Regions from separate parts of the Homo sapiens genome. Here region 2 is linked to region 1. Evidence: promoter capture Hi-C in 16 types of primary human blood cells and fetal thymus (Javierre and others, 2016). All regions are on one chromosome and are shown on one strand. Each heading gives the region's core, a stretch centred on a gene start or on the middle of the fragment in contact. The rest is flanking DNA. Distances are from core to core; before and after follow the strand shown. Region 1 holds the start of ARL6IP1 (ARL6 interacting reticulophagy regulator 1). Region 2 overlaps SMG1-DT (SMG1 divergent transcript).

Evidence for each region. The method cuts DNA at HindIII sites, captures the fragments that hold promoters and counts their contacts. A CHiCAGO score of 5 or more calls a contact.
Region 2: a contact is called between a fragment that was not itself captured here and the fragment with the promoter of ARL6IP1 in region 1, in 13 of 17 cell types (neutrophils, fetal thymus, activated CD4 T cells and 10 more). The highest score is 12.0, in neutrophils.

What each region holds. Positions count from the first base shown.
Region 1 is chr16:18,798,079-18,805,320 of GRCh38, reverse strand. ARL6IP1 (ARL6 interacting reticulophagy regulator 1) reads left to right here and starts at 3,772. Exons shown (of 6, transcript NM_015161.3): 1 at 3,772-3,890; 2 at 6,487-6,620. The coding sequence starts at 3,855. It overlaps SMG1 (SMG1 nonsense mediated mRNA decay associated PI3K related kinase), which reads left to right. Exons shown (of 63, transcript NM_015092.5): 63 at 1-461. RefSeq lists enhancers at 3,229-3,468, 3,849-3,928, 4,149-4,268. The HindIII fragment of the contact is 8,806 bases long and covers 1,537-7,242 here.
Region 2 is chr16:18,934,741-18,941,982 of GRCh38, reverse strand. It overlaps SMG1-DT (SMG1 divergent transcript), which reads right to left. Exons shown (of 2, transcript XR_001752094.2): 2 at 4,767-5,127. Among named protein-coding and RNA genes, the nearest start is that of SMG1, 12 kb to the right of the region's middle. The HindIII fragment of the contact is 1,530 bases long and covers 3,459-4,988 here.

The DNA of each region.
Region 1 (7,242 bases), core at 2,523-5,022:
CACACTTTTAGAATGTTTTTCTTTGAAAACAGGCTAATAGTTTTTTCTTTTTTTGACAAAGTTTCAGCTCCTCTTTAAAGTTATTGTGTCATTTTTCTGGTTTAAATTTCCCTTATATTTCCACCTGTAATGTCAGTGGCAACAACATCATACTTCACTTACTTGTTAATTTACTTTTTACCCTTATTCTAAGAGCAAGTTGAGTTGAACTGAATCTTCCTTGTCTTAGTAACAATGTATAAATAGTGGCTTTTCTGTACAAAAGGTTGTAATGCCTCCTGATGGATATAATTTTGTGATTGTATTTAAAAGTTGAATAAATCACACCAGCTTCCTGAAAATGTTCATAATGCATCTTTTGGAAAACAAATACATGCCTACTTTGTGCATATTTGCATTAACATGGCAAAGATTGTATGAAATACCTGTTTTTCAGAAAATAAAGGTTCAGTCTCAAAAGATACAGCATTTAAGTTCTGAATTTATTGGTCAAAATAGATTTTGGAAAACTTGAAACCTTTTGGAACCTGGGTAGCTTGAAAAAACAAAACGACAGGGTCTCCCTATGTTGCCCAGGCTGATCTCGAACTCCTGGGCTCAAGTTACACTCCCACTTCAGCCTCCCAAAGTGCTGGGATTACAAGCCTGAGCCACTAAGCCGAGCCAAGCCTAGTCTTTTTTTTCTGAATAGCACTAATACCTCAAAAAAGACCCCTAAATTCTCAGAAAAGTAACTATTTTATTCTCAAACATCTGTTGTATTTTTGAATAGCAGTAGAAATTCTACTTCAACGATAAAATTCTTTGTGTTAAGGCCCAATTTATAAAGCTTAATTTTGGCAGTATTTAAAAACAAAATTCCCGTAGATCATTATTGACAGATAGGTGCATTCCTTGGAGTGTGAAACCTCTGAAAAAAAATAGAAAATGTCCAGCTTGGCTTTATATCTTGGAGATTGCATTTGTTGCTGCTAAATGAAGTTAGTAAGATTTGTGTTAACTGCTTAGTCATCTGGCACATTTCAAAAGATCACATCCTGTCTCTGTAGGACAAAAACAAAGCTCTAAAGAAAGCTATGTTAAGGGTGGGTGTTTTTTAATAATTAGACCAATCGGAAATTTAGTGAGAGACCATATAGCAGGGCTGTGCATTTAGAAATAGGTATGGGAATACATTGTTAAGTAACAAAAAATACTAAGTGGAGAAACTGCTGTTTCAGTTGCTTCTGTTTTTTTCACCTACCTTCATTTCACAAGCTGGTGTTAACAAGTCTTAAGTTGTGCATGGAAAACTTGGGTGAAAACAAGAAGCATATTCTGCAGCAAAAGCTGATTTCCCAAAAGTAGAAATGTCAGTTTTAAACCCTAATAAAATACCCTCTCTTTTGGAAGTGGCTATTACTGTGGGTCTAGCAAGATCACATACCCAGTGCTCAACATATTCACTAATTATGTGGCTGCTGATTGCTTCGATCTTTTTGACTTTTTTTTTTTTTTTTTTTTTTGAGACAGGTTTTTTGCTCTGTCACCCAAGCTTAAGTGCATAGGTGCAATCATAGCTCACTGCAGCCTCTATTTCCTGGGCTCAAGGGATCTTCCCTGCCTCCCCATTTGTATTTTTTTTTTTTTAGGGGCGTGGAGAAGAACCTGCTCCTCAGACTCCATAGCTTTAAAATCTCTCCAAATAGCGTCTCTGTCAACTGGCTGTATCCTGCCTTTACAACTTCTTTACCCCAACATTCTCCAAAGTGGCACTTTATTGAACAGTCAGCTTCCCTTGCAAAGACTTTTTTTCAAGTGCTTCTCCCTGATTCAGATACTTCACTCCCCTTTCCCCGAAAGACCCACAGCAAATTGACACCCTTCCATGAAATTCACAATGCTCCTGCCCTTGCCCAGCTCTCTTAGGGGCAGTATGTGGTCTGCAGCTATGTTCTCTCACATTTATGACTTCCTTGAACATTTAAGAACCTGGTGGTTACTTAAGGAACATTTTAAAAATAAATTTAAATTCAATGGCCGAATACAAATGACCATGAGATTGGAAGTTAAAACCTGTAAAAAAGATAAAAGGTTGGAAGTTAAAACTATAGTTAATTCACCTGAAACAAACATCTGATCCGGACATTTGGCATGATTCTGTTTGTATCAAACGATGAAAAATCGGCCGGGCGCGGTGGCTACTGCACTACAGCCTGGGCAACAGAGCCAGGCTGTGTCTCAAGAAAAAAAGAAAAAAAAAAAAAAAAAAAAAAAAAAAAGATCAAAGCACTTGTTACTGCATTTGAAATCCTGGATAGAAAAGATGTACAAGTGCCTCAACACAGTTCCTAAACTGCCTAGGAATTCTACTGCTTGTGAGAGGGTTTACATATTTTCTTAGCTTGACCTCTAATGGAAGAAAGGTCGTGTCAAGAACTATCCTTTTGGCCGGGCGCGGTAGCTCACGCCTGTAATCCCAGCACTTTGGCAGGCTAAGGCGGGCGGATATCTTGAGGTCAGGAGGTCCAGACCACCCTGGCCAAAATAGCGAAACCCCGTCTCTATTAAAATACAAAAATTAGCCGGGCGTAGTGACGGGCGTCTGTAATTCCAGCTACTCGGGAGGCTGACGCGCCAGGATCACTTGAACCCGGGAGATGGAGGTTACAGTGAGCAGAGATCGCGCCACTGCACTTCAGCCGGGGCCACGGAGCGCGAGACTCCTTCGTCTCAAACAAACAAACAAACAATTCTGGCCGGGCGCGGTGGCTCACGCCTGTAATCCTAGCACTTTGGGAGGCCGAGGCGGGCGGATCACGAGGTCAGGAGATCGAGACCATCCTAACACGGTGAAACTACGTCTCTACTAAAAATACAAAAAATTAGCCAGGCGTGTTGGCGGACGCCTGTAGTCCCAGCTACTTGGAAGGCTGAGGCAGGACAATGGCGTGAACCCGGGAGGCAGAGCTTGCAGTGAGCAAGATCGCGCCACTGCACTCCAGGCTGGGCAACATAGCGAGACTCCGTCTCAAAAAAAAAGAAAAAAAAAAAAAGAATCCTTTTGGAGAGGGAGCTTGTAGTTTAAGTAACTTAAACATCCACGTATAATAAAGCCACTTAGAAGGCGGTGCATTTTCACACGTTCTCAAACCAGGCCTGGGTTTTTCCGCGCAAGCTAAGGCCTCATTCCTACTGGGTAGGAGAGAAACATTGCAGCAAAATCCACACAAAGAGCTCTTTTCACTTGTCCTCAAAACCTCACGGGTCGCAAATCCGGGCTAAACGGCTCAGGGGCCTGGCTGGGGAACTGGGCCGAAGGTGGAACGGATCCCAGCCACCTCGGGGCCAGGAAAAGATGAAGTGTCGCAGGCCCGGCGTCCCCGCCCTCCGCCTGAGGCAACGGAGCATCTCTCTTCGAGTAGCCCATTTTCCAGAGAGTCTCCTCGGCTGCGAAAGCCAGACGAAGAGGGACCCAAAGCCACCGCAGCGGCAAGAGCCGGAGAACCACTGAGGGACAGCGCCCCCTGCAGAGGCGGTTGAACCGCTTCCCACAGCGCTGGGCGGGGCGTCGCGCAGTCCCTGGGCGCTGATTGGGCACTCCGTGTCCCCTCCCCCTCGGCCCGGCGCTGCCTCTGTCTCCTTTGACCTCGATTTCAAGCCATGCGCTGAGCTTCGGTTGGCCCGGCTTCCTTGAGGCGTAAGCTCGGTCTGTCCAATGAGGAGCGAGCGTCGCGGGGGCCGTCGGGAAGGGCGGCCGACCCATATAAGCAGCCTGCGGGGCGTTCCCTCGGGTTGTGGTTGGTGTGCGGGTTTCGGTTGGAGGACTCGTTGGGGAGGTGGCCTGCGCTTGTAGAGACTGCATCCCCGAGACGATGGCGGAGGGAGATAATCGCAGCACCAACCTGCTGGTGAGTCCTGGCTGCCTGTCCCCCGGGAGCCGAGCGAGGCCTCCAGACGTCCGTGGGCTCAAACACCGCGGCCTCGTCCCTGTCACCCGCCGCGGGCCCGGCCCTTCTCTCCCTGGGCAGGCGACGATGCCTGGCCCTCGGGCTTCTTGGGTGACTCCTGGGTGTCGAACCCTTACCTTTCCTGGGGACGGTGCGCGACGGGGCGAGGAGGGCGCGTGATTCATCACCGCGAGTAGGAGTCGAGGAGGAAGTGGGAGGCAGAGGGGCTGCGACACTAGCCTGGGGTGCGGGTGGGGGCAGAAGGCCTCCTGGGGCCTGTCCAGCGCTTTCGCGGCTCAGGCCCCAGCCGTATTCGGCTTTCCCCGTCTTTGATCTTAACCTGGATGTGCCTGCCTTCTTTTCCCCCTAAAACTTGGACAAGGGTGGAGGGTCAAAGGGCTACTGCCCAGAATTTATCTTAGAGCTGGTACAACTTAAAACGACAGGGAGGCTGCGAGCTCACCGTGGGGAACCGGGAGCGGGGTCCAGCTGAACAGACAATGGGATGTCTTGGCGTTTGTCTGGAATTTGGAAGTCTGGCGGGGGTGGGGTCACAGGACTACTGGAAACAGCTTTAGAGTAATAAGCAGGGATCCGAAGGAACTGCAGTGAGATGGTATCATAGGCGGACACATTTTTATTTGTTATGAATTTAAGCGCACCTTGTGGGCAAAAAACAAGAGAAATATCCTTGCATATTCTCAGTTGCCCTTCCCTGGTGACTGTAGGTCACATACCAGCAATGAAAAACGGAACCAAAGAATTTACTTAGGGGCTTTTGAACTTCCAAGACCCCAGACGCTGGCCAATGACGTGACTTCAGGGCAGTTTTGATTGTGCGTGATTTTATATTTGCTTTTAGAAATGCATGGTTTGTTCCTTTAAACACACGCTCCTTCTAGCATAGTTAGTTCTCAGCGTGGATCTTTTTAAGAGGATTAATTGAAGCACAGAGAAGTAGCTCAAGCCCTGTTGAAATGACAAATCCTGGGCTAGAGCTCCTGCTTCCCAACTCTCCTTCCAGCAGAGCAATATAACTCTAAGGAAAGCAACGCCTTTGGTCGTGGATTTCTTGGATGCAGATCAGTTAACCTCTGTATCTGTTTCCTCCTTGGTAAAATGGGGACAGTAATAACACCTTTTTTTAAGGGTTGTTAGGAAGATTAATTGAAGTATAAATATGAATGCTCAGCAGAGTGCCCACACATAGTAGTCTCTTTCACTAGTATTAAGCATGGAATATAAAGTCAGAAATATTGAGATCACACTAGTGCTCAGCGTGGCACAGATAGCGAGCGTCTTTGTTAAGATTAAGTGCCTTGTTCTGTCATTTGCATGATTTCCAGTGAATGACTTTTACAAAGAGACAAGGTCTCAGCCCAGGCTGGTCCCGATCTCCTGGGCTCAAGCAATCCCCCCCGACCCGCCAAGTGCTGGGTTTACAGGCGTGATCCACTGCATCCAGCCTGATAACATAGAGACACTTGAGTTTCTTATTCTAAATTTTTCTTCCTTTACCAAAACCAGCTTTAAGGGCTTTTGCCACATTAGCTCATCCTAGAGGCCCACTTTCGGCTGTTCAGAGTCAGAGAAATTTGAAGTATAATCAAAATGACATCCTGAGTGGTAAGAAACACTGTATTGAGGAGGTATATTGACCGTAAAATGCCACCTTAATTTGGTGAAAGTAGTTTTCCTTAATTGTCCAATGAATGTCAACATCTGAGTGATTCCATTACACAAAGAGCTATTTTAGAAATTGAATGCTATTCAGGGAAAGTCTTTCCTAATGGATTTAGAAGGGTTTAAATCAATAAGATGACAAAAACAACGGATCAATTCTAACCATCTGAAATAAACAAACTTAAAAAAAGTTATTTCATTTTATTAATACTCTGGGCACTGCCACGATTCCCCGCATGACTTTGAGAAAGTAAACCATTTTGAGCTCACTTTCTTTAATTGTAAATTGAGTCTAATTATCCCTACCTTGTGGCTCTCTGTAAGGATTAAGTTACATCATGTATATAAAGAATAGCCCAGTGCTTGGACTAGAAAAGTGACCATTAAAGGATATTTAGGCTGGGCCTGGTGGCTCACACCTGTAATCCCAGCACTTTGGGAAGACGAGGTGAGTGGATCACTTGAGGTCCAGAGTTTGAGACCAGCCTGGCCAACATGGTGAAACCCTGTCTCTACAAAAAATTAGTCGGGCGTGGTGGCGGGCGCCTATAGTCCCAACTACTCAGGAGTATGAGGTAGGAGAATCGCTTGAACCCAGGAGGCGGAGGCTGCAGTGAGCCGAGATCTCCCCACTGCACTCCAGCCTGGGTGACAGAGCGAGACTCCGTCTCAAAAAAAAAAACACAAAAAACAAAAAAACCCATTGTATTTTCATCTTTGAAATTGCAGTTTTTCAGAAACCAACTAGTTTAAAATTGGCAATTTGGTTAAGAGGTTATTTTTTGTATTTGGAGCTTTAAAATAATTGAAGTCTATGAACCACAAAAATGTTGAGAGTGGTAAAATGATCACTTTAAATGTCGGTGGTATTTAGGCTGCAGAGACTGCAAGTCTGGAAGAACAGCTGCAAGGATGGGGAGAAGTGATGCTGATGGCTGATAAAGTCCTCCGATGGGAAAGAGCCTGGTTTCCACCTGCCATCATGGGTGTGGTTTCTTTGGTGTTTCTGTAAGTGAGCTATTAGATTACTATGGGTTGTGCTTCTTATTAATAAAGACTTTTTAATATATAGCTTCTGTTTGTGGGAGTGCCTTAAGTCTTCTGTAATATATAACCCATAAAGAACCCATAAAGAATGTTTCTCATAAGCACTTCTAGTTTCCAGAATTTGTAGTACTTCTGTAAACTTGGTAACCTAAAGCACTTGAGTAAATCAGTGACTCGCAAACTTTTTGTCCTCCAGACACTTAAACTCTTTTTTTGTTATTATACTTTAAGTTCTGGGAAACATGTGTAGAATGTACAGGTTTGTTACATAGGTATATATACATGTGCCATGGTGGTTTGCTGCACCCATCAACCCTTCATCTACATTAGGTATTTCTCCTAATGCTATCCCTCCCCTAGTCCCCCACCTCCCTAAACTCTTAAAAAAGTGCTGAGAACTCCAAAGAGCTTTTGTCCATTGATATATACTTAACCACTGCAGCTATGATATCAGCATGTCACAAAGCCTCTGGAAAGCCACTTGTGAGAAAATTAGAAGAAAAATGGCAAATATCTCTGAGAGGCGGTGAATAGTTAAGTGAATAGTTAAGTTAGACATGTTTAGTTAGGAATAATAATGACT
Region 2 (7,242 bases), core at 2,974-5,473, 140 kb before region 1:
CTTTTTTACAAGAGATGATAAAAGGCTTCTTGCTTGTGAATGGCCCTTGAGACTCTAAGGCAGGATTAATTAGAAGACCAAGAACAAGAGTTCACACTTCAAGATTCTGAAGGAGGCTTCTAGGGATGTTTAAGGGCCTTTAAGAGGGATGAGTCTAGGTTTTTAAATTTGTTTAATTGCACTTAAAAATGTATAACTTTCCTTTTCCTTGAGCCAATTTTCTGTAACATTGTTTCCACACATATCCTTAAAGTATCATCTTCAGGCCAATGATTCTCAAATTTGCCTATTTAGGCCACATGTTTATAGACCCTACTCCTGGCTTGACATGTGCACTTGGCAATCTCATGCACATCTCAGATTTAACATGGTCAAAACAGAACTCTTGACTCCAATTTGCCTCTGTCCAGGCCTTTCTTATCTCAGTAAATGGCACCAACACACTGGTTACTCACATCAAAACTTGGGAAATAGCTTTCTTTTCTTTTCTTTTCTTTTTTTTTTTTTTTTGAGATGGAGTCTAGCTCTGTTGCCCGGGCTGGGGTGCAGTGGCACAATCTCGACTCACTGCAACCTCCGCCTCCCGAGCTCAAGCGATTCTCCTGCCTCAGCCTCCCAAGTAGCTGGGATTACTGGTGCCTGCCACCACACCCAGCTAATTTTTGAATTTTTTTTTTTTTTTTGAGACGGAGTCTTGCTCTGTCACCCAGGCTGGAGTGCAGTGGCGCGATCTCGGCTCACTGCAAGCTCTGCCTCCCGGGTTTACGTCATTCTCCTGCCTCAGCCTCCCAAGTAGCTGGGACTACAGGCGCCCACCACCATGCCCGGCTATATTTGTTTTTTTTTTAGAGATGGGGTTTCACCATGTTAGCCAGAATGGTCTCGATCTCCTGACCTTGTGATCTGCCCGCCTCGGCCTCCCAAAGTGATAGGATTACAGGTGTGAGCACCCGCGCCCGGCCAATTTTTGTATTTTTTTAGTAGAGATGGGGTTTCGCCATGTTGGCCAGGCTGGTCTCGAATTCCTGACCTCAGGGGAGGTCTTCTTTAGAAGCAGCTGGGAGCGGTGGCTCATGCCTGTAATCCCATTCCTTTGGGAGGCCAAGGTGAGTGGATCACCTGAGGTCAGGAGTTTGAGACCAGCCTGGCCAACGTGAGGAAATCCCGTATCTACTAAAAATACAAAAATTAGCTGGGCATGGTGGTGGGTGCCTGTAATCCTAGCTAATGGGGAGGCTGAGGGAGGAGAACTGCTTGAACCTGGGAGGCAGAGCTTGCAGTGAGCTGAGATTGTGCCATTGCACTCCAGCCTGGGTCACAAGAGCAAAACTCCATCTCACAAATTAAATAAATAAATAAATAAAAATAAACTCTTTAGAAGAAAGAACATATAAACAAGAGTGGTAGTTTTAGACTAACAGAAACCAATATGGTAGCCACTAAGCACTTATAGCTACTGAGCACTTAAAATGTGGCTACTTTGTATTGAAATATGCTGTAAGTAAAATACACACTGGCTTTCAAGGCTTATCAAAAACAGAATGCAAAATATCTCATTAATAATTGTATATTGATTACATGAAGTGATAATATTTTGGATAAAATATATTGTTAAAATGAATTTCACCTGTTTTTAATTTCCTCAAATATGACTACTAGAAAGTTTAGAATTACATATGTGGCTCAAATTATATATTTTTTTCTTTTTCTTTTTTTTTGAGAGAGAGTCTCCCTCTGCTGTCCAGGCTGGAGTGCAGTGGCGCAATCACAGCCCACTGCAGCCTTGACTCCCTGGGCTCAAGTGATCCTCCCACCTCAGCCTCCCAAGTAGCTGGGACTACAGATGTTCATCACCACACCCAGCTAATTCTTTTGAGGGGGAGGGGCGGGGAGTTATGGAGGTCTTGCTGTGTTGCTCAGGCTAGTCTGAAACTCCTGGGCTCAAGCTATCCTCCCACCTTGGGCTCCCAAAGTGCTGGGATTACAGGCATGCACCACCACACCCAGTCCCATTTTCATACCTCGAGGGGCTATGTTCTAAGAAACATAATTTGGGAAATACTGTTTCAAAGATTAGTGTTAATGATTTATTTTATAATTTATTTATTTTTCTTAGACCACAGAATGAGATTATTTTTGAAAATGGTGGGGAGGGTAGTATTGATCCTAGGAATCAAGTAGTATTTCCTCTCTTTTCAAATTTATATCTTCAAACTCAGGTATTTATTGCCATCAGTTATCTGATGGTAGCAGGTGATAGATGAATCATCCTTATGGTCATTTAAAGTTGCAGGAGGGCCGGGCACGGTGACTCACGCCTGTAATCCCAGCACTTCGGGAGGCTGAGGCAGGCGGATCACGAGGTCAGGAGATTAAGACCAACCTGGCTAACACGGTGAAACCCCGTCTCTACTGAAAACTACAAAAAATTAGCCTGGCGTGGTGGCGGGCACCTGTAGTCCCGACTACTTGGGAGGCTGAGGCAGGATAATGGCATGAACCCGGGAGGCGGAGCTTGCAGTGAGCCAAGATCGCGCCATTGCACTCCAGCCTGGGCGACAGAACGAGACTCTGTCTCAAAAAAGTAAATAAATAAATAAATAATAATAATAAACTTGCAGGTCATTTAAAGTGCGGGGTGCAGCATGTAATAAATGCTCAATATATTTTTTAAAAGATCATGAGGCCCCACGCTATCTCTGCATCCTGAACTTTCTGGTGCTACCTCCGGGAAGATTTTACATCTTAAGACATGAGGGCACAACTGGAGTCAGAAATGCCTGGGTTTGGCCCTGGGCGGTGGCTCAGTCTTGTAATTCCAGCACTTTGGGAGGCCAAGGCGAGGGGATCACCCGAGGTCGGGAGTTGGAGACCAGCCTGACCAACATGGAGAAACCCCGTGTCTACTAAAAACACAAAACTAGCTGGATGTGGTGGCACATGCCTGTAATCCCAACTACTCCGGAGGCTGAGGCAGGAGAATTGCTTGAGGCAGGAGGTGGAGGTTGCGGTGAGCTGAGATCGCGCCATTGCACTACAGCCTGGGCAACAAGAGCAAAACTCCATCTCAAAAAACAACAACAAAAAAAATTAGCTGGGCGTGGTGGCGGGTGCTGTAATCCCAGCTACTCAGGAGGCTGAAGCAGGAGAATCACTTGAACCCAGAGGGCAGAGGTTGCAGCGAGACGAGATCGCACCATTGCACTCCAGCCTGGCCGATGGAGTGAGACCCTGTCTCAATAAAATAAAATGAAGTTGGAAAACCACTAAGCCACGGTCTAACTCAAACCCTTGAGTTTGCAGATGAGCAAATGAAGGTTTTGGGAGATTAAGTGCCCTGTCCAATGTCAGTGAGCACATCAATGTTTTACAAATTGGAAAGCGGGGAATAAAAAAGGTACTTAAAACAGGAAGTGGCCCAGAAACTATCACCTACATAATCTCCTGTCCCTTAAGCTTCCCTCCTCCATCATTTGTTTACCTGTAAGAGAAAATTACATTTTCTAAGTGCGCCATGAATATAGATATACTCCTTTCATCCAAACAGAAACAGAGAAGAGATTTACTACAGCATCAAGCAGCACCTCAGAACTCTTTCAGCCTTCCTGGCGAAAATGGACAAAGTTGCCCGGGCGCCGTGGCTCACGCCTGTAATCCCAGCACTTTGGGAGGGTGAGGCGAGTGGACCACCTGAAGTCAGTAGTTTGAGACCAGCCTGGCCAACATGGCAAAACCCTGTCTCTACTAAAAATAACAAAAATTAGCTGGGCGTGGTGGCGGGTGCCTGTAATCCCAGCTACTCGGGAGGCTGAGGCAGGAGAATCGCTTGAACCCAGGGGGGTGGAGGTTGCAGTGAGCCGAGATTGCGCCCGCCACTTCACTCCAGTCTGGGCAAAAGACTGAAACTCTGCCTCAAAAACAACAACAATAACAACAACAACAACAACAACAACAAAAACAGAAACGAAAAGAAATATTTTCGTTTGAACCCAGGAGGTGGAGGTTTCAGTGAGCTGAGATGGTGCCACTGCACTCCTTGGCGACAGAGTGAAACCCTGTCTCAAAACAAAACAAAAACAAAACAAACAAAAAACTTCCGCCCCTTTTTTTAAGTAAAAAGAGTTGGTTTTGTTTGTTTGTATTTTTGGGTTTTTTTTTGTTGTTGTTGTTGAGTTGTAGGAGCTCTTTATATATTCTAGATATTAACCCTTTATCAAATATATGATTTGCAAATATTTTCTCCCATTCCATGCTTTGTCTTTTCACCCTGTTGATGGTGTCCTTTGAGGCAAAAAGTTTAACATTTTGATGTAGTCTAATTTACCTGATTCTTCTTTTATTGCTTGTACTTTGGACTTTGGATATTGTGCTAAACTGAGTTCTTTTGATCAGTGTCTTTATAGTCAGAGAACTTGTCATATAGTCTAAAAGTTAAGCCAACAGAAGGATTCTTCATATTGTAGTCTACTGACCTCTTTTATAGAATCAAAGTGTTTTTTTCTGGAAAACACTGTGAGCTCTTTCTCATGTGTGTTATTAATACTTTTATCAAGTGGGCTTTCTACAAAAACAAAATGGTAATAAGATTCTTTTTTTTTTTTTTTTTTCAAAGAGCTTTCTGAAGTTTGCTAACTTATGAATGCAACCTTCCCTTCTTGCACCGGTCCTGAGCCGTGATTGTGCCACTGCACCCTAGCCTGGGTGACAGAGGGAGACCTTGTCTCTAAAAAAGAAAGAAAGAAAGATGATGAAAGTGTAGCAAAGGGTTATTTACAGAGGGTTTTAGTAAACTAACAAAGAATGCTGCAGTATCCTAGGGCTAGCAACATCAGGGAGCCTGCATTACCTTTAGGCTCAAAGATCAAGGGAGAGAGACAGTGGTTGCTGGAACTTAGAGAAGGCAGCTGGATGGAGACAGTCATATGACAGGAACTGTGGCCTTCAGTAGAGAGATGCAGCAACCTCCAGGTGACCTCAGGGAGGAAGCTTTAGGAATAAGCACCCAGACATCAATGTCTTCCTGTTCTCCCACGTGGCGGTGTTTCCTATGGTAGAACTCAGCCAGAAGACACAGGACAAGGGATTCAGCTGGCACGCTCCATGCAGGTCACTCTCTGGGTTGCAGAGCTGAATGGAGAAAGATGGAGAATAGATTTGCAGGGACCAATGGAGAATAGCAGGTGCACACACATTGTCCGGTCTGGCTTCTCAGCAGCCAAGAACCACCAGTTGGTCGATGTTTGAAGAATTACTATGGGCCGGGTGTGGTGGCACACATGGGTGCTTTGGGAGGCCAAGGCAGGAGGATCACTTGAGGTCAGGAGTTTGAGACTAACCTAGCCAATATAGCAAAACCCCATCTCTATAAAAAACACAAAAATTGGCCAGGTGCGGTGGCTCACGCCTGTAATCCCAGCAATTTGGGAGGCTGAGGTGGGCAGATCACGTGAGATGAGTTTCAGACCAGCCTGGCCAATATGGTGAAACCCCATCTCTATTGAAAATACAAAAATTAGCCAGGCATGGTGGTGTGCACCTGTAATCCCAGCTACTCTGGAGGCTGAGGCAGGAGAATTATTTGAACCCGGGAGGCGGAGGTTGCAGTGAGCCGAGATCATGCCACTGCACTCCAGCCTGGGCAACAGAGGGAGACTCTGTTTAAAAAACAAACAAATAAATAAATAAAAGTTAATCTCATCCAAAAATACCCTCACAGACTGGGTGTGGTGGCTCATGCCTTGTAATCCCAACACTTTGTGAATCTGAAGGAGTAGACTCGCTTGAGCCCAGGAGTTTGAGACCAGCCTGGGCAACATAGTGAGACCTTGTCTCTACAAAAAATTAAAAAATTAGCTGGGCATGGTGGCACACACCTGTGGTCCTAGCTACACCTGAGGCTGAGGGAGGAAGCTCACTGGAGCCTGAGAGGTCAAGGCTGCAGTGAGCCATGATTGCACCACTGCACTCCAGCCTGGCTGACAAAGCAAGACCCCGTCTCAAAAAGTAATGAAAAAAAAAATATCCTCACAGACACACCCAGAATACTGTTCAACCAAATATCTGGGCACCCTGTGCCCCAGTCAATTTGACACATTAAAATTAACTGTCACAATATCCTTCCAGCCTTTTCCTATATCTATATAACATTACATAACATATATATAGATAGCTATAAGTCTATTTCTTTTCTTTATTATTATTATTTTTAAGATAGGGTCTTACTCTATCACTCATGCTGGAGTGTAGTGGTGCAATTTTGGCTCACTGCAACCTCCACCTCCTAGGCTCAAGCAATTCTCTCACCTCAGCATCCTGAGTAGCTGGGACTACAGGTGTGTACCACCATGCATGGCTAAATTTTTTTTTTTTTTTTTTTTTTTTTTTGTAGAGACAGGGTTTCTCCATGTTGCCCAGGTTGGTCTTGAAATTCTGGACTCAAGTGATCACTCACCTTGGCCTCCCAGAGTCCTGGGATTACAGGCATGTGTTACCAGGCCCAGCTGGTGTATTTCTCTTCTTTTTCTTCTTCTTCTTTTTTTTTTTTTTTTTTTGTGTGTGTGAGATGGAGTCTTGCTCTGTCATCCAGGCTGGACTGCAGTGGCATGATCTCAGCTCATAATAACCTCCACCTTCCGGGTTCAGGCGATTCTCCCACCTCAGCCTTCCAAGTAGCTGGGATTACAGGCACCTGCCATCATGCCTGGCTAATTTTTGCATTTTTGTAGAGACGGGGTTTCACCATGTTGGTCAGGCTGGTCTCCAGCTCCTCTGTGGGAGGTGGGGGGATTGCTTAAGGCATGGAGCTCAAGATCAGTCTGGGCAACATAGAAAGACCCCATCTCTGGGCGGGCAGGGTGGCTCACGCCTGTAATCCCAGCACTTTGGGAGGCCGAGGCGGGCAGATCACGAGGTCAGAAGATGGAGACCAGCCTGGCCAACATGGTGAAACCCTTTCTCTTCTAAAAATACAAAAAATTAGCCGGGCATGGTGGCAAGTGCCTGTAATCTCAGCTACTCAGGAGGCTGTGGCAGAAGAATCGCTTGAACCCGGGAGGTGGAGGTTGTAGTGAGCTGAAATCGTGCCACTGCACTCCAGCCTGGGCGACAGAGTGAGACTCTGTCTCAAAAAAAAAATTAATAAATAAAATAAAAAGGCTGGACATGGTGGCTCACACCTGTAATCCCAGCACTTTGGGAGACCGAGGTGACTGGATCACCTGAGGTCAGGAGTTCGAGACTAGC